Regions from separate parts of the Homo sapiens genome. Here regions 1, 3, 4 and 5 are each linked to region 2. The links are contacts of gene promoters, found by promoter capture Hi-C in human tissues and cell types (Jung and others, 2019). All regions are on one chromosome and are shown on one strand. Each heading gives the region's core, a stretch centred on a gene start or on the middle of the fragment in contact. The rest is flanking DNA. Distances are from core to core; before and after follow the strand shown.

Region 1 (3,488 bases), core at 138-2,637, 110 kb before region 2:
CAGGCTGGAGTGCAGTGGCGCGATCCCTGCTTACTGCAGCTTCTGCCTCCCAGGTTCGAGAGATTCTCCTGCCTCAGCCTCCCAAGTAGCTGGGACTACAGGTGCGTGCCACTACACGCGGCTAATTTTTTGTATTTTTAGTAAAGACTGGGTTTCACTGTGTTAGCCAGGATGGTCTTAATCTCCTGACCTCGTGATCTGCCTGCCTTGGCCTCTCAAAGTGCTGGGATTACAGGCATGAGCCACTGTGCCTGGCCGCACCCGGCTAATTTTTGTATTTTTAGTAGAGACGGGGTTTCACCAGTTGGCCAGGCTGGTCTGAAACTCCTCACCTCAGGTGATCTGCCTGCTTCAGCCTCCCAAAGTGCTGAGATTACAGGCGTGAGCCACCGCGCCTGGCCTAGAGTGACTTTCTTAAAGCTCTGTGTCTCCTGGAAATGGAATGTATCCCAAATGAGGATTATTTTTAAGCTTTATAATAAAATCTTTCACAGCATAGACTTTTTTTTTTTTTTTTTTTTTGAGACGGAGTCTTGCTCTGTTGCCCAGGCTGGAGTTCAGGGGCGCAATCTCGGCTCACTGCAAGCGCCGCCTCCCAGGTTCATGCTATTCTCCTGTCTGTCTCCTGAGTAGCTGGGACCACAGGCGCTCGCCACCACACCCGGCTAATTTTTTGTATTTTTAGTAGAGATGGGGTTTCACCATGTTAGCCAGGATGGTCTCAATCTCCTGACCTCGTGATCTGCCCGCCTCGGCCTCCTAAAGTGCTGGGATTACAGGCATGAGCCACCGCGCTTGGCCCACAGCATAGACTTTTAAAGACCATGTAGGCAAGAACAGATCTTTAAAGGGAAACCTCAGTTTGGCTTTTGAAAGTTCATCTGATTGAAGTTAAACTGATGAAACATACTCCATCCATGCATTACCAAAAACGTTGGAGCACGGCATGGCAGTAGTATCTAAAACAGATTGGCAAACTATGGGTCTAAGAATAGTTTTTATGTGTTTAAAGGATTGTAAAAATAAGCAAAGAAGAATATGTGACCCATGAAACATAAAATAGTTACTGTCTGGCTCTTTATGGGAAAAAAGTTTGCCAACTCTTGGCTTAAAGGGTCAAGAATGCTTTACCAAAAAACAAACAACCCCCTCCCCCCTACAACTGTAATGTTTGAGCAGGAGTTTTACAAGATAAAGAATTTTGATCTTGAGGGGATTTGGGTGAGGATGGGGCGGTGCAGTGGGAGAGAGAGTATAGATACTGTTCATCACACCCAGTGCAGTCGGCTCTGGTGGGAACATAGGGTGACCTCAGTGTGTGGTGAGGACAGTGATCATGGCCCCTTTTACAAGTTGAAGCTTAGTTCTGGAGTGGTGGACCATCAGAAGCTTTTAAGTAGGAGAATGTCAATGTCATAAATTAGAGTTAATTGTGAGAAATTGAAATAAGTATTCCATTTTTTTCTGAGATGTGCTCTCCTGAACTTATAAAGTAGTTCTTCAGAAGTGTTTGCAGTGTTCACAAGACACTGGCTCTGTGGTATTTGACATGCAGATGGGCCCAGAATTCCTGACTTAAGGCTAAAGATTTATCTTGAGCTTATCATGATGTGGGCTTATGATTGTTTTGATCAGCAGCTGACATCTGTGAAGCCTCAGTGATCCTATAAATTGAGGAACCTGAGAGAATCAAGAGAAAGACAACAATTCTTGCTGATGTCAGTAACTGTATTTCACCTGTTAAACTTCTGCATGGAGGAGGTCAGTGTTGTCTGCTGTGTCAGCATCAGCCTACCTGGGTGTGGACGTATTCTTTGGGAGATGAAACGTAGAAAAGGTACCCCGAGTCCATTACACATTCTGGATTCCCAGAAATAAGACATCTCTGAGGGCAGAACCTTTACAGTCACTTACATCAAGAAGGAATTCTTCAGGAGAAAGCTCGGTAAAGGTATCTTAACTTTGTATGTATACCCAGAGAAAACACATAAAGATAAAAATAAAATAATTTTCCTCATTATCCCCACACCATTAGCATCTTGGTGTATAGTCTTTGCATCTTTTTTCAGTATGTATGCACTTAGATCATCTTGTAGGACGCCAGTCCCATGCATTATACACTTTGTATCTCACAGTGGAGTGGAGGACAGCCTGATCCTTAAGGGGATGCCGAATTGCTGCATCCCCATGATTTTTGCTGCTTTGATTCTTCTCATGAGCCCCGTTGCTGCTGTCTGTATTAGCGTCCTTCTGAGCAAACAATGGGTACCTTTTTTTTTTTTTTTCTTAAGAGAGAGTCTTGCTATGTTGCCTCAGGCGGGAGTGCAGTGGCTATTCACAGGTGCTGTCGTACTGCCCTGGATGATAGTACACTGCAGCCATGAAGTCCTGGGCTTAAGCAGTTTTCGCCTCAGCCTCCTGAGTAGCTGGGACATTAGGCCCGTGCCGCCATGCCTGGCTCTTGACCATTCCCACAAGCCACACCTACAAGGAGCTCAAGGAGCTGTTTGCGCTGTAGGCGGTTTTTTTTTTTTTTTTTTTTTTTTGGTTTTTGTTTGTTTTTGTGCAGAGGTCAGATCTCTTGTCTCATAGTGCAAAGGCGATGAAGGCCTTCATTACAGTCTCTCAATTTGACTCTCAGTTTGATCGGAAGTTGCTAAGATGGGCTGACATTGTGAGGAGGATACTGCTACAGCAGTAGTGTGTGTGTGTGTGTGTGTGTGTGTGTGTGTGTTTGTACAGACTGTCTCACTCTGCCACCCAGGCTGGAGTGCAGTGGTGCAGTCATAACTTACTGTAACCTTGAACTCGTGGGCTCAAGTGATCCTCCTGCCTCAGCCTCCCGAGTAGCTAGGACTGTAGGCTTGTGCCACCATGCCTGGCCCTTTTTTTTTTTTTTTTTTTTTTTTTTTTTTGTACAGACAGGGTCTTGCTGTGTTGCTAAGGCTGGTCTCAAACTCCTGGCCTCAAGTGGTCTTCCTGCTTCAGCCTCCCAAAACACTGGTATTACAGGAGTGAGCCAGAGCACCTGGCCTGAAGCTATATATTATTGTTAACTGCAGTCATCCGACAGTGCTATAGAACACTAGACTCTGTTCCTGTCTAGCTCTCTCCCCATTTTTCCCATCCTCCTACCCTTCCTAACCTCTAGTATCCTGTGTTTACTTTTGACTTCTGTGAGATCAACTTTTTTTAGCTTCCACATGTATTAGTGAGAACATGTGGTGTTTAACTTTCTGTTTTTGGCTTATCTCACTTAATATAGTGTCCTCCACTTCTATCCATGTTGCTGTGAACGACAGGATTTCATTCATTTTTATGGCTAAATAGTAGTCCATTTTGTATAGATACCACATTTTCTTCATCTGTTGTTGGACACCTAGATTGATTCCCTGTTTGGCTATTGTGAATAGTGCTACGGTAAATATGGGGTATAGATGTCTCTTTGATGTCATGATTTCCTTTCCTTTGGATAAATTCCCAGTAGT
Region 2 (3,458 bases), core at 402-2,901:
CATCACCATTCACTTGTCCATTATCCACCACCCACCAACCATCATCCACCTACCATCCATCATCCACCATTTATCCATTATCTACTTATCTACCATCCATTACCCATCCATTTATCATCCTATCCACCATCTACTATCCACCCATTATCCACTATCCACTGTCTATTCACTATCCACCATCTATTCACTATCCACCGTCCATCTCCATCCACAATTCACCATTTATGCAACCATCATCCACCATCTATCCATTTACCATCTATCTATTCACCATCCACCATCCATCCATTCAGCATTCATCACTCACCAAACATCCACCATTTAACACCCACTTTTTTTTTTTTGAGATGGGGTTTCACTCTTGTTGCCCAGGCTGGAGCACAGTGGCGTGATCTCCGATCACCACAACCTCCGCCTTCCAGGTTCAAACGATTCTCCTGCCTTAGCCTCCCAAGTAGCTGGGATTACAGGCATGTGCCACCATGCCTATCTAATTTTGTATTTTTAGTAGAGATGGGGTTTCTCCATGTTGGTCAGGCTGGTCTCGAACTCCCGACCTCAGGTGATCTGCCCGCCTTGGCCTCCCAAAGTGCTGCGGTTACAGGCGTGAGCCACCGTGCCCCGCCAACACCCACTCTTTATGATCTACCTGTCGGCCATGTATCCATTTATGCCATTATCCATCCACCACTCCCTGATTACCATCCATTCCTTTTCCTTTTTTTTTTTTTTTTTTTGAGACGGAGTCTCGCTCTGTCGCTCAGGCTGGAGTGCAGCGCACGATCGTGGCTCACTGCAAGCTCCACCTCCTGGGTTCACGCCGTTCTGCCTCAGCCCCCCAAGTAGCTGGGACTACAGGCGCCTTCTACCATGCCCGGTTAATTTTTTTGTATATTTTTAGTATAGACGGGGTTTCACCGCGTTAGCCAGGATGGTCTTGATCTCCTGACCTCGCGATCCGCCTGCCTCACCCTCCCAAAGTGCTGGGATTACAGGCATGAGCCACCACGCCCGGCCATTCATTCATTTTTCACTCACCATCCTCATCCATCCATTCATCACCCATCCACCCTCTATCACTCACCATCCACCCCGTCAACCATTTACCATTCATCTGCCATGCGTCCATATGCCGTACACCATGCACCATCAATGTTGCTGTCCATCAGCTGTCCCCTACTCACCATCCACTACTCTCCACCATCATCCACAATCCACCCTCCTATACCATCCACATACCATGTTCCATCCAGGATCTTCCTTCTATCATCCAACCACCACCCACAGCCCATGGGACAGGGGCACTGCGTGGAGAAGTGGACACCCAGTTCCAATGGTGAGCAGACTAGCTCAGCCCTAGCAGCACACAGGACAGAGAAAGGGGTGAATTCAAAGGTCGTTTATTCCCCCTCCCGGCAAGACACCCATTTTACAGGGTAGGTCAGTCTCGCCAAGCCCTTCTTCTTTGCCCTTCTTCCTGAGAACCTAAGGTGTTCAGGCCCTGCAGGGGCGGGTAAGGGGAGGCTGAGAAGGTGCCTCCCAGGGGCCTGAAGAGTCGGCCCTGGGCGGGTCTGGAGGTAAATGTGTAACCGACCCTGGTGCCCCCACCCGACCTGCCTGGTCACGTGGGTCCAGTGGGGCAAAGTCTCCTGGTGGGGTGCAAGGAGCCGAGGCGAGATGGGCGTCCTGGGCCGGGTCCTGCTGTGGCTGCAGCTCTGCGGTGAGCCGGGACCACACCGGTGCGGGCCCGGACGGTAGCGGTCTGTCAGGACCCAGGGCCGAGGTCGCTCTAGGCCTGGAGGGTGAAGATCTTCCGAGGAGTGGGCAGGGAGGGCTTTGGAGGGTTGGGGGCGTGAAACTCGGCCCTGCCTCCCTCGTCTGGCGAGTGCGCAGCCCGGAAGTGCGCGGCCAGTGCATCGGGCGGTGCGGGAGAGGAGAGGAGGGGCTCCGGGAACCTCGGCCAGCCCCGGCCTCCGGCGGCTCCTGCCCTCGCGGTTTTTCCGTCTGCGAAATGGGCGCGGTCCCCAGAACCTGCCGAGAGCAGCGAGTGTGCGCCTGCGGGGCTCGGCAGACCGCCTCAGCTTCCCGGTCCCCAAGGGAGCACTGAGCCCTCCTCCGCCTTCACACCAGGCCGGCGCGTGTCCCTGGCGCCCCCTTCCCTAAACCCCTCGCGGCTCCCTCAGGACAACCCCACCCACCACATTCAGGGCCGGCCTGACCTGGTCCTGCCGCCCCCAGCCCCTTCTTACTTCTCATACCGGGTTGCGCTCTGTCGCAGCTCTTCCCGGCCCAGGTAGGACTCCTCCGGGAAGCCTTCCTGATTCCAAGGCCGAGAAGAGGTCTGTGCTGCCCCATCCTCCTCCATGCCCCAGTTGTCACTGTCCTTAACAACGCTGTCCTCTGCTCCAGCGCCAGGCAAACTGGGGGCAGTGCCGGGAGGCTATCTAGGCAGGCGTCCTGCAGGGCGCGTTTGAGCGGGCTCTGCAGGTATCAGTAGAAGTCCGTTGGAGAGCGCCCGGGCAGGGCGCCCACAGTCTGGCCGGGAGGGACCAGGGTCTGGGTCCGGGCCCCCGGGGATGGGGTTCCTATGCGTCCCGGGTGATCCGCGCGGACCTTCCGCACTTCTCTGGGTGGGTGGCCTTCCCTGAGAAGGGAGCATCCCGGAGAGCATCCCGGGCACTCAGTCGCCTCCTCCCCAGCACTGACCCAGGCGGTCTCCAAACTCTGGGTCCCCAACACGGACTTCGACGTCGCAGCCAACTGGAGCCAGAACCGGACCCCGTGCGCCGGCGGCGCCGTTGAGTTCCCGGCGGACAAGGTGCCTGGGAGCGCCGGCGGGGTCGGTGATGGGCCTGGACCCCTGAGACCGTGTGGCCCCGGTGGGGGTTGCTCCCGGCTCGGCTGAGGCAGCTTCTTCCTGCAGATGGTGTCAGTCCTGGTGCAAGAAGGTCACGCCGTCTCAGACATGGTAAGGCCGGGCTGCTACTGCCACTGGGCTGGGGGTTCACAGAGTCTCTGAAGCGCCTTCAGGGACTGCTGTGCCTTGAGGGCGGACCCCACCGGCATGGAGGCACTGCAGGACTGGGACTTTGGCCTCTGGAGAATATTCTAGGAGGCAGGGAGTGGGGGGGAACCTAGGGGAGCTTGGTCCCATGGTCCCAGCCAGGCTGTGTCCTGGGAGGGATGGGAGGCACCCCTGTCCCCACAGCCCTTGTGATGCCCAGCAGTGGGTGGTCTTCCCAGGAAGCGCCTGCTCCATGCCCTTCCCCCAAAGCCTTGCCTTGTCCTGGTGCCTAAAGCTCCATCTTTAGAACACTAGGGAAAGTGTCCCCAACACCCCCCCCTCTACCCACCATCCGGGTCCCTGGCCTGTTAGGAAGTGGCCGCCCAGGAAGAGGCGAGCCCACTCCTGCCTGGCTCTGCCTCCCTTCAGATCAGATCAGATTCTCCTAGGGACC
Region 3 (3,555 bases), core at 536-3,035, 85 kb before region 2:
AAATAACCATTGGGTTCTAGGCTTCGTACCTGGGTTACAAAGTAATCTGTACATCAAACCCTGGTGACAGGAGTTTACCTGTATAACAAACCTGCACATGTACTTCTGAACCTAAAATAAAAGTAAAAAAAAATAATTTGGGCACGATGACTCATGCCTGGAATACTAGCATGTTGGCGGGAGGATCGCTTGAGGCCAGGAGTTTGAGGTTACACTGAGCTGTGATTGTGCCACTGCACTCCATCGTGGGTGACAGAACAAGACCCTGTCTCTAAAATATTTATCTACATGATATATACATTTGGTGGGTGCTTTGGTCCCAACTGTCTGTGACCATCTGGGGCAGAGCCAGTGCCGTGTGCAAGGTGTACTGCCTGCACACAGCACAGGAGGCTGGGGCTGGCCAGGGCCTGTGCACCTGCTCCTCTGTGCCTGGCTTGTGGATGCCCCTCACTCGCTGAGTCTTTTCTGAAGTCATTTAGCAGCACTGCCACTGCTCTAACCTACATTTAAAGATTTATTTTCATAATTTTCTGGCAGAAAATTTTATTAATGTAGCCATTTTATTTGTATAATGATTGTTGAGAATAGAATATTTTATGTTCAAGATATTGATTAATTTTTGGAGAAACTAAGAAATTTGATGTTGCATAACAAATCTCTATTTAAATTCACGGTGTAAACTGCAGTGAATCATTAGTGTATTAGGTAAAAGCCAACATTGCAGAATATAGTTTATTTGAAAGGCCGCTTAGATGAAAATTCTAGGGTGATCTGGAAATGTTTTACACTTTTGTATATGTGATCATTGGATGCTACTTAGGAGAGTTTGTACTAGTGTGTCTAGCAGTTGTAGCAAGGTGAGGTGGGTGGCCACATTTGATTATGAAGTAAATTTATTCTAGAGAGTTTATATAGCATGAAGAATATTACAATCAAAGAAGTGTTACACTACATATCTTAAACTTTTAACATGACTCTTATCTAGCTATAAAAATATGTCTGACATTTTGTGTTTTAGGAATGAAGTAAGTATGCAGTGGTAATGAATGTTTGATCATGATTTCAGGTGAGTAAGACGTCAGGGAAACCTATCACAGTTCCATAAGCAAAAATGAAAAAAACTCACTGAGGTATATTGCTACAAAATGGCTTCTTTCCCCCAAGAATAGCTGTAACTGTGACAGAGTAGCGCAGCACAGTCCTTCCATTCTCCCCTTGCTCTTTCCTCCTCCTCATCCAGATGCATTTGGATGATACTGTTCAAAAGTAAGATAAATAATTGTACTCAATTTTCATATTAGAGTAGCTAGAAATTAAGCAAGTAATTTGTGTGTGTGTGTGTGTGTGTGTGTTTTTTTTGGGGGGGGGTGAAGGTCTTGCTCTGTTGCCCAGGCTGGACTGCAGTGGTATAATGACAGCTCGCTATAGCCTCAACCTCCTGGACTTAAGCCATCCTCCCGCCTCAGCCTCCCGAGTAGCTGGGACCACAGGTGCATGCCACCACACCTGGCTAATGTTCACATTTTTTATAGACATGGGGTCTCACTATGTTGCCCAGGCTGGTCTTGAACTCCTGGCCTCAAGTGATCCTTCCACCTTGACCTTCCAAAGTCAAAGTGCTGGGATTACAGGTGTGAGCCACCGTGCCTGGCCTCCAAACAATAATTTAAATGATGTGATAAATTTTATTTTAGCCTAGCCGAGATCTTAAAATCTATTTTGAAGTCAGGCACTAGCCTTATTTGGTTCAGCTAAAGGTGCTCCCTGGTGCATCAGGTTGTGAATGTCATATATGAGTCCTAAGGGAGTAAACAAACTCTGGCTGTGTCAGTGCTGAAATTCAAAACAGTAAAAAAAAAAAAGATACTTGGTTTTAAAATGGGGTGGATGCATCTATTGGGCTTTATTGATATTTTGGAAATTTTGAGATATGTATTTTGCCTCTTGCTAAGGAATTAGATAATCGTGCAGGGTTTGAATTGACAGTTGTCAAAGTCAGCAAAAATACTATGGTCAAATTGCTGGGTCTTTGAGACCTAGGTTTTAGTCCTGTTAGCTCTGACTTTGGGCAAGTTGTTTGATGTAATTGTTTTAGTTCCTCAACAATCCAGACCCTGGCCAGCAGAGTTGGAGCATTGAATGATCTTTCTAAGATAATTTGAGCGTACAAATGGCAAATCTGATTTAACAGCATAACTGTTGATTCTTACGGCACAAGTCAGTGAGCCTGTCTTTGTTGAGGTAGTCGCGGTGTGATAACAGACATAGTAGTTAAGAACACTGACTCGAGGTAGACCGCTGTGCCGCTTAGTAACGTATCGTGTTGTGAAGCTGCTGAATCTTCGTACTCTAGTTTCCTCATCTCTATAACAGGCAAATTTGTAATTGTGACAAATAATAACTACAAGAAGTAAATTAATAACTAAGACCAAATGCATACTGTGTGGCCAGCACCATTGTAAGTGCTGAGGATACAAACCTGAACAAGACACATTGCTGTCTTCAGAAAGCTCACAGTCAGATGGGAGAGAGAGAAGGAAGCAAGGCAAGTACAGGCTTGTAAGTGTTGTGATGGGTGTCCTTACAGGACCAGGATTTCAGGAGGTAAGGTCAGTTTCCCTGGGAAGGGAGAGTTAGAGAAAAGATGCTCGCAGTTTAATTCAACAAACAAGTGGTACCTGCTGGGTGTGCCTGCCGTCCTGCTAGGCATTGAGACTACAGGATAAATTTAGCATGATCCCTGCTCTAAAGGAGCTTAAAGTTTAGTGGAAAACCATGAGTCTAGTGATAAATAGTAGTTGTCAAGATACTTGAATGGAGTCTTGCAGATGAAGTGTTTGACAGGCAGTGGAAGAACAAAAACACAGAAGGAGACAGTCGTTGCGGCTGGAGCAGAGTTTGCAAGTCCACTCCTGGTGAGGGAGGGGATGCTGAGCCAGCAGGGCAGGGTCTACTCACACCCAGAGGCTGGCTCGGAAGCAGCAGATGTAAAGGGAAGTGTGTATTGGAGGGGGTATGTTGTGAATTTGATGACGTCTGATTGTTACATTGAATTCCATGAGTTCTAGACAATTTCTTCATGATAATTACCCCCTTAAATTTCATAATCTTCATTCCCCCACTAAATTTAATACCATAACATTTTTAATTTAAAAAACACCTTTTTTGTCGGTACTTTTGAAAACATTTTCCTGCACCTGTGCCTTCTATGAAATGAACGCTGTAGAGAATCTGTGGAAATCGGCTCATGGTAGAAGCTTTCCCTGTCATATGGATGAGTCCTTTTGCTTGCCCAGTGCCCTCCTGGCATATTGATGAGGTAGGATTGGGAGTTCGGAACGCCTACAAAATGAGCAGGCTAATTTCGAACGGATGCTAATCCTGCAAAACCAAGAGAGATGCTTATTGGTTGATTTGCCTTTTTTTTTTTTTTTTTTTTTTTTTTTTGAAACAGTCTCACTCTGTCACCCAGGCTGTAGTGCAGTGGCGCGATCTTCGCTCACTGCAACCTCTGCCTCCTGGGCTCAAGCGATTCTCCTGCCTCAGCCTTCT
Region 4 (3,716 bases), core at 654-3,153, 110 kb after region 2:
GGTGGGTGGATCACGAGGTCAGGAGATCGAAACCATCCTGGCTAACACGGTGAAACCCTGTCTCTACTAAAAAATACAAAAAAATTAGCTGGGCGTGGTGGCAGGCACCTGTAATCCCAGCTACTGAGGAGGCTGAGGCAGGAGAATGGCATGAACCTGGGAGACGGAGCTTGCAGTGAGCCGAGATTGTGCCACTGCACTTCAGCCTGGGCAACAGAGCAAGACTCTGTCTCAAAGGAAAAAAAAAAAAAAGAAATGCTAGATTGGCCAGGCGTGGTGGCTCATGCCTGTAATCCCAGCACTTTGGGAGGCTGACATGGGCGGATCACGAGGTCAAGAGATCGAGAGCATCCTGGCCAACATGGTGAAACCCCGTCTCTACTAAAAATACAAAAAAAAATTAGCTGTGTGTGGTGGTGTGCACCTGTAGTCCCAGCTACTTCGGAGGCTGACGCAGGAGAATTGCTTGAACCCAGGAGGCGGAGGTTGCAGTGAGCCGAGATCGCGCCACTGCACTCCAGCCTAGTGACAGAGGGAGACTCCATCTCCAAAAAAAAAAAAAAAAAAAAAAAAAGAAATGCTAGATTGGAGCCCTCAGTGGCCAGACACGCATGTGAGCGGGAAGCAATATTCAAAACAGCAATAGCAATCCATCCAGCAACTCCAGCCCTCCCAGCACCTGAGGGGCTCTCCAGCCAGCAACTCCAACCCTCCCAGTGCCTAACTGGCTCTCACAGGGTGGCTGCTCCTGAACCAGAGGAAGGGCCACCAAGCAAACCGCCCTCAGAGTGAGGCGCTCACTTTCCTTCCTGAACAGAGGAGAAGCGTGGAGCGGCCAGCCCGGCCTCACCTTGCCCGACAGGAGTGACCAGTAGTCGCCCATCTCCATGGGGCGTGCCCAGCACGGTATCAAAGCCCTCTCATGGCCAATGAGGTTGAAGGTGGAAATGGTACCTCTTTTTAAAACATTTAAGAATGTTTAGAAGAATCTGGTTCTTTTAAAAAAGAGGCAAAGAAAGTTTGAGGAGCATAGTTTGGATAACAATGGCTTCACTCATTTTAAATGTTATTTATTTCAGCCTCAACAATTAAATGTGTTCAGGTGGCCAGGCACAGTGGCTTATGCCTGTAATCTCAGCACTTTGGGAGACCAAGGTGTGTGGATCACCCGAGGTCAGGAGATCAAGACCAGCCTGGCCAACATGGTGAAACCCCATCTCTGCTAAAAATATAAAAATTAGCTGAGTGTGGTGGTGCACGCCTGTAGTCCCAGCTACTTGGGCGGCTGAGGCGGGAGGATCACTTCGACCTGGGAGGTGGAGGTTGCAGTGAGCCCAGATCCCATCACTGCACTCCAGCCTGGGTGACAGAGGGAGGCTCCATCTCAAAAAAAAGTGTTCAGGGCTGGCTCACACCTATAATCCCAGCACTGTGGGAGCTGAGACAGGTAGATCACTTACGCCTAGATGTTCCAGACCAGCCTAGGCAACATGGCGAAAGCCCGTCTCTACAAAAAAATTCACAAAAATTAGGTCAGTGTGGTGGCATGCACCTACAGTCCCAGCTACTCGAGAGGCTGAGACGGGAGGATGGCTTGAGCCCAGGAGGTGGGAATTGCAGTGAGGCAAGACTGAGCCATTGCACTCCAGCCTGGGTGACACGGTGGCACCCTGTCTCTACACACACACAAAAGTGTTCAGATTGGCTGCCAGACTACCCACCTCCAATATGTCACATATCCAACTGAACCTAAGCATTTCTGAGTTACTTTTTTTTTAATTAAAAAAAATATTTTATGCTGATATTTTTCAGTATTATAAAAACGCCGGCATGAAGGAAATGAAATAAAAAAAGTACATGACCCAGACACCAAGCAGAGAAAGATGGCCAGTGTGCTCCTGTATCGTCATCTTTGGCTCACCATCCCCACGTAAACGCAGTAATAAACAGGAAGGAAGGATGTTTTCACAGAAGACTTGAAAATGTTCTTCTGATTTCATGAAAGTAATTGGTAAGCCAGGAAAACTACCCTTTTCACCAGATGCCTAGAGATGAGACACTAAAATCAACAAATGAAAGAGCTTTCCAAATAATCAATAAAACTTTACGGCAAAGTCAGCAAATGTTTAACATTTTGCAAAAGGACATCTAGCTTTGTGCAGTCTGCATTTCCTTTCACAAGCTACAAGAGCTGTCAAAAATGCTTCTCCTTAAACAAACGCTGCAGTAAAAATACAAGATTTATACTACCAGGGTTTATTTGATTATGAAAATTGTACTTTTCCAGAACGTCTGGCGATTTCCAATTTGGGATGAGCCTGGTATTTCTCTACAGGCGCCCACACGCAGGCCTTTCCCCAGTGCTCTCAGCAGGAAGGGCCTGGGGCTCCCAACAGCACCAAGGCCCAGCCTCTGTGCAGCCTGATGTGCAGGTAGAATGCCCAACCCGTCTGGCTTCTAAGGGCTGGATTCCGGAAACCAACTAAAAAGCTGATGTACCAGAGACTACAGCATCACTCACATGGGTGGACAAGTATCAACTAATTTTTCTGAACTTCAATTAAAAAATCAAAAAGCTTAAGATCACATTTTAAAAAGTTGAGTCCTCACTAATTGTCAACTCCAAAGTGTCTCCAGTGAACAACTACTATAAGACCTGCCTTCTATTATTATTATTATTATTTTTTTTTTTTTAAGAAAAATGCCACAAGCCCAGGGCATCCTCACCCAGCAAGCAGCAGAGGGAGCCAAGAGCACCAGCCGGCGGCCAGCCTTGTGGCCTCAGGGCAGCGGCAGGTGTTTCTGATATGAAGGCCTGGAGAAGCAACACGTATTTCATTCACTTCTCCTTGTCCCCCTCTGCTGTCTCAGAGTGACAGATCCAACCTCTCATGCCCACCCACGAGGACCAAGGAGAAGGGAGGTAATAACGCACTTCTCGGCCTCTCTGCAACCCCGCGTGGGTGCACACTTGGGCCTCAGGCCTCACCAGCTCCTGACTGGAATATACTTTACCACTGCAACATCTGAAATGAAATCAGAAATGCCTATTTTTTTTTACATCGATTGAACCCCCAAATAGTTTATTTCCCACAAAATATACTGGGCCAATAGTATAGGAATGATCTGTCAAATGCCAAATTTGTCCAGCTAGGAAAACACTAGAAACCAGTTAAAACTTTTGAACAGGACAGGACAAATGCCAATTCTTCCACAAATAAACTGCAAAAAAAAAAAAAAAAAAAAAGGAGAGAGAAAGAGCTTACAGATTAAAAGAGATTAAGGAGGTGTACAATCCAAATGCCTATAAAACAAATCCACTTTTTTTTTTTTTTTTTTTTGAGACGGAGTCTCGCTCTGTTACTCAGTCTGGAGTGCAGTGGTGTGATCTAGGCTCATTGCGACCTCTGCCTCCCGGGTTCAAGCAATTCTCCTGCCCCAGCCTCCTGAGTAGCTGGGATTACAGGCATGCAGCACCACGCCTGGCTAATTTTTATATTTTAGTAGTTTCATCATGTTACCCAGGCTGGTCTCGAACTCCTGATGATCCACCTGCCTCAGCCTCCCAAAGTGCTAGGATTACAGGCATAATCCACCGTGCCCGGCCACAAATCCACTTTTTTTAAAAAAAAAAAAAAAGGAAATTTAAACAATGACTATTTTATGATATTGAGAAATTACTGTTATTTTTTAATGTCATATTATTATGGCTATGT
Region 5 (3,216 bases), core at 390-2,889, 82 kb after region 2:
TCGCCACCACTGCAGAAACAGTGCCATTGGGAATGAGTTGGGCTGAGACCTCCTTCTCTGAGGTCTGCCCGCGTCACGTCCACCCAGAGCTCCAGCAGTGGACACTTTCAGGTTCAGGCAAACCTAGAGTCACTCTAGGAATAAAAAGTCCTGAACAAGGCGGTCTGCGGGTCACTCAGCGGCCAAGACCAAGGGCTGGTTTCCCCTTCACCGCCAAGTCAGCTGCCTTAGAGTGCCGTGGAGGCGAACACGCTTGACAATGCACATGCATGTGCGTCACGAGGCTGGTCCATCTGTCCTGAAAGCAAGCCCTGTTTAAATCGGAAAAATACACAGGCAGCGTGGAGACTAAGAGTCACCTAAAACCTGTCGAAAGGGCCTGGGGCACCCCCCCCACCGCGGGAAGACAGGAGGACTGCAGGCCCACGAGAGGCACTCCCGGACTCAGCCCTAGCTGAGATGGAGGCAAAAACATCCACGTGGCTTAATCCCCACTGCGGTTCCTTATTCTCAATAATCCAAGATTGAAAGTGTTTCAAACTCCCAGCTGATTTAAATGTAATAAACCCAGCAAACAAACGAATCAGCTTCTCTAGTGATTAGAAAAAAACAAAGTCCTTACTTCCACATGTGTATTTTAAAGAAGTTCTACCTGACAATTACTGCATGAAAACAAGCCCCGCCGTTTTATCGAGTCCAATACACATTTTTTAAATGTCAGTTCCACATTGTCTGACTGAATTTTTAGTGACAGCATAAAGGAATAAAGCCGGAGCGAATGCCCTGACCGAGTCTCTGGCTGTGCGACCTACCAGGTGGTTCTCGTCCTGAAAGGCGTAGTGCAGCGCGGTGATCCACTGGCAGTCGCCGTTCACCAGCACATCGCGCTCCTCTCGGAAGCACGCGGTCTGCAAAGCAACGAGGGGTGTCAGTCTGTGTTCACTGGGAAGCAGGCCAGAGAGCGTACTGCCGGTCTCGGGGTCCCTCCTGGGACAGTGGCTCCAGCCACGGTGTCCCTGCCTTCCGGGCTCCTCCTCGTGCACCACCCCGAGGCTGCTGAGGCTGAGCCATCCCTCATCCCTTCCTCTCCCAAGCCCCGTGCAAGTGCCAAGGGCTGCTGAGGAGGCACTTGCACCCTGCTGTCCCACGGGCACCATTTCTGTGGCTGACACTTAGATTCACCCCACCCTTATGTGGATTCCTGACTGGGCTCCTCCCACCTGGCACCTCCTGACTCCTCTACCAGATCAACCTCTGCCAAGTATCGATGGCATGGGCAGCCCCACGTGTCTGCCCTCTCCGTCCTATACCCACTACTGAGCTGCTGTGCAGCTGGCAGAAGGCGCACACGTTTGCTGAAATCACAGTATAGTGATGACACAATTGTCACAGATTCCACTAGGGAGGCCTACAGCCAGCAGCACAGGGCAAGAGGCTGCCCTCTACCCTGCTACGTCTTCCAAAAGAGTTTTAATGCCCAGGTGGCATCTCCGTTTAAAAGTCACCAGGCCTGGCCGAGCACGGTGGCTCACACCTGAGGTCAGGAGTTCAAGACCAGCCTGGCCAACATGATGAAACCCTGTCTCTACTAAAAACTAGAAAAACTAGCCAGGTGTGGTGGCAGGTGCCTGTAATCCCAGCTACATGGGAGGCTGAGGGGGGAGAACTGCTTGAGCCCAGGAAGCGGAGGTTGCGGTGAGCCAAAATTGCATCACCGTACTCCAGCCTGGACGACAGAGCCAGACTCCATCTCAAAAAGAAAAAAAAAATGGCTGGTCACGGTGGCCCACACCTGTGGTCCCAGCAGTTTGGGAGGCCGAGGTGGGTGGATCACGAGGTCAGGAGATCAAGACCATCCTGGCTAACACCGTGAAACCCCGTCTCTATTAAAAATACAAAAAAATTAGCTGGGTGTGGTGGTGGGCGCCTGTAGTCCCAGCTACTCGGGAGGCTGAGGCAGGAGAATGGCATGAACCCAGGAGGCGGAGCTTGCAGTGAGCCGAGATCATGCCACTGCACTCCAGCCTGGGCGACAAAGCGAGACTCTGTCTCAAAAAAAAAAAAAAAGTCAACAGGCCTTTGGCATAATTTTAACATGATTTCCTCTTTATTGAGCACAGAACAAGATTCAAACTGTCTTACATTTGAACTTGTCAAGCTTAACAAAAATATAAGTACATTACGGAGAGCTTGCTATGTGAGGCACGAGGGCACAGTTCTGACCGGCTCTCAGCTGAGTCTCACAGTGACCTCTGAAACTTATTTCTTCTACAAGGTTTTCTTTTCTAAACTTTAAAAAGTTTTCCTTTCAGGCTGGCCATGGTGGCTCACGCTGTAATCCCAGCACCTTGGGAGGCCAAGGCGGGAGGATCACTTGAGCCTAGGAGTTTGAGACCAGCCTGGGCAACATAGTGAGACTCCGTCTCTACAAAAGAATCTTAAAAATTAGCCGGGTGTGGTGTCACCCGTCTGCAGTCCCAGCTACTCAAGAGGCTGAGGTGGGAGGATCGATGAGCCCAGCTGAGATCATGCCACTGTACTCCAGCCTGTACAACAGAGTAACAGAGTGAGACCCTGTCTCTAAAACAAGAAAAAAAAAGTTTTTCTTTCAAAATGAAATGGTTGGCTGCACACGGTGGCTCACGCGTGTAATCCCAGCACTTTGGGAGGCTGAGGCAGACGGATCGCGAGGTCAGGAGTTCAAGACCAGCTTGGCCAACATGGTGAAACCCCGTCTCTACTAAAAGTACAAAAATTAGCTAGGCGTGGTGGCGGGTGCCTGTAATCCCAGCTACTCGGGAGGCTGAGGCAGAGAATCGTTTGAACGCAGGAGACCGAGGTCGCAGTGAGCCAAGATCGTGCCATTGCACTCCAGCCTGGGCGACAGGGAGAGACGTCTCAAAAAAAAAAAAAAAAAAAAGATGGCTGTTGCAGCTGTGTCCCAGTTCTACTAATGACAACATGACAAGCGGTCAACATTCAGCTTGCTAATGTCCAGACATGCAGAGACCAGCAATTCTGGAATCATCACAACCCCTCTGCCAACAGCCACCTCAGCCACAAGGGCCTGGTGAAGGGACAACTAAAGAAAACCTGAGCCTCAGTGTGCCTGACCTCCTGTCTTCCAGAACGCGCCCCCAAAAAGAAATGGTGATGGAGTGCTGAGTCCCAGGTGAGGTGAGACCGTGGGCTCAGGAGGCCGGGGCTGCCCCGAGG

What was found. Contacts are between HindIII fragments. The study calls those that stand out against the background at their distance.
Region 1: a contact is called between a fragment that was not itself captured here and the fragment with the promoter of AMN in region 2, in 9 of the 25 tissues and cell types used here (H1 embryonic stem cells, IMR-90 fibroblasts, dorsolateral prefrontal cortex and 6 more).
Region 3: a fragment that was not itself captured here is called in contact with the fragment with the promoter of AMN in region 2 in 2 of the 25 tissues and cell types used here (H1 embryonic stem cells and IMR-90 fibroblasts).
Region 4: a fragment that was not itself captured here is called in contact with the fragment with the promoter of AMN in region 2 in 2 of the 25 tissues and cell types used here (mesendoderm cells and pancreas).
Region 5: a fragment that was not itself captured here is called in contact with the fragment with the promoter of AMN in region 2 in 2 of the 25 tissues and cell types used here (dorsolateral prefrontal cortex and thymus).

What each region holds. Positions count from the first base shown.
Region 1 is chr14:102,809,029-102,812,516 of GRCh38, forward strand. The region is part of intron 1 of TRAF3 (TNF receptor associated factor 3); the gene reads left to right. Among named protein-coding and RNA genes, the nearest start is that of TRAF3, 33 kb to the left of the region's middle. RefSeq lists silencers at 656-815, 2,625-2,734. The HindIII fragment of the contact is 3,490 bases long and covers 1-3,132 here.
Region 2 is chr14:102,921,012-102,924,469 of GRCh38, forward strand. AMN (amnion associated transmembrane protein) reads left to right here and starts at 1,652. Exons shown (of 12, transcript NM_030943.4): 1 at 1,652-1,720; 2 at 2,700-2,818; 3 at 2,924-2,968. The coding sequence starts at 1,678. RefSeq lists silencers at 1,876-2,075, 3,239-3,437. The HindIII fragment of the contact is 38,072 bases long and covers 1-3,458 here.
Region 3 is chr14:102,835,789-102,839,343 of GRCh38, forward strand. All of the region lies in intron 2 of TRAF3 (TNF receptor associated factor 3), which reads left to right. Among named protein-coding and RNA genes, the nearest start is that of TRAF3, 60 kb to the left of the region's middle. The HindIII fragment of the contact is 6,332 bases long and covers 1-3,555 here.
Region 4 is chr14:103,029,310-103,033,025 of GRCh38, forward strand. The region is part of intron 1 of CDC42BPB (CDC42 binding protein kinase beta); the gene reads right to left. Among named protein-coding and RNA genes, the nearest start is that of CDC42BPB, 26 kb to the right of the region's middle. The HindIII fragment of the contact is 5,944 bases long and covers 1-3,716 here.
Region 5 is chr14:103,003,116-103,006,331 of GRCh38, forward strand. It overlaps CDC42BPB (CDC42 binding protein kinase beta), which reads right to left. Exons shown (of 37, transcript NM_006035.4): 4 at 813-908. Among named protein-coding and RNA genes, the nearest start is that of CDC42BPB, 53 kb to the right of the region's middle. The HindIII fragment of the contact is 7,582 bases long and covers 1-3,216 here.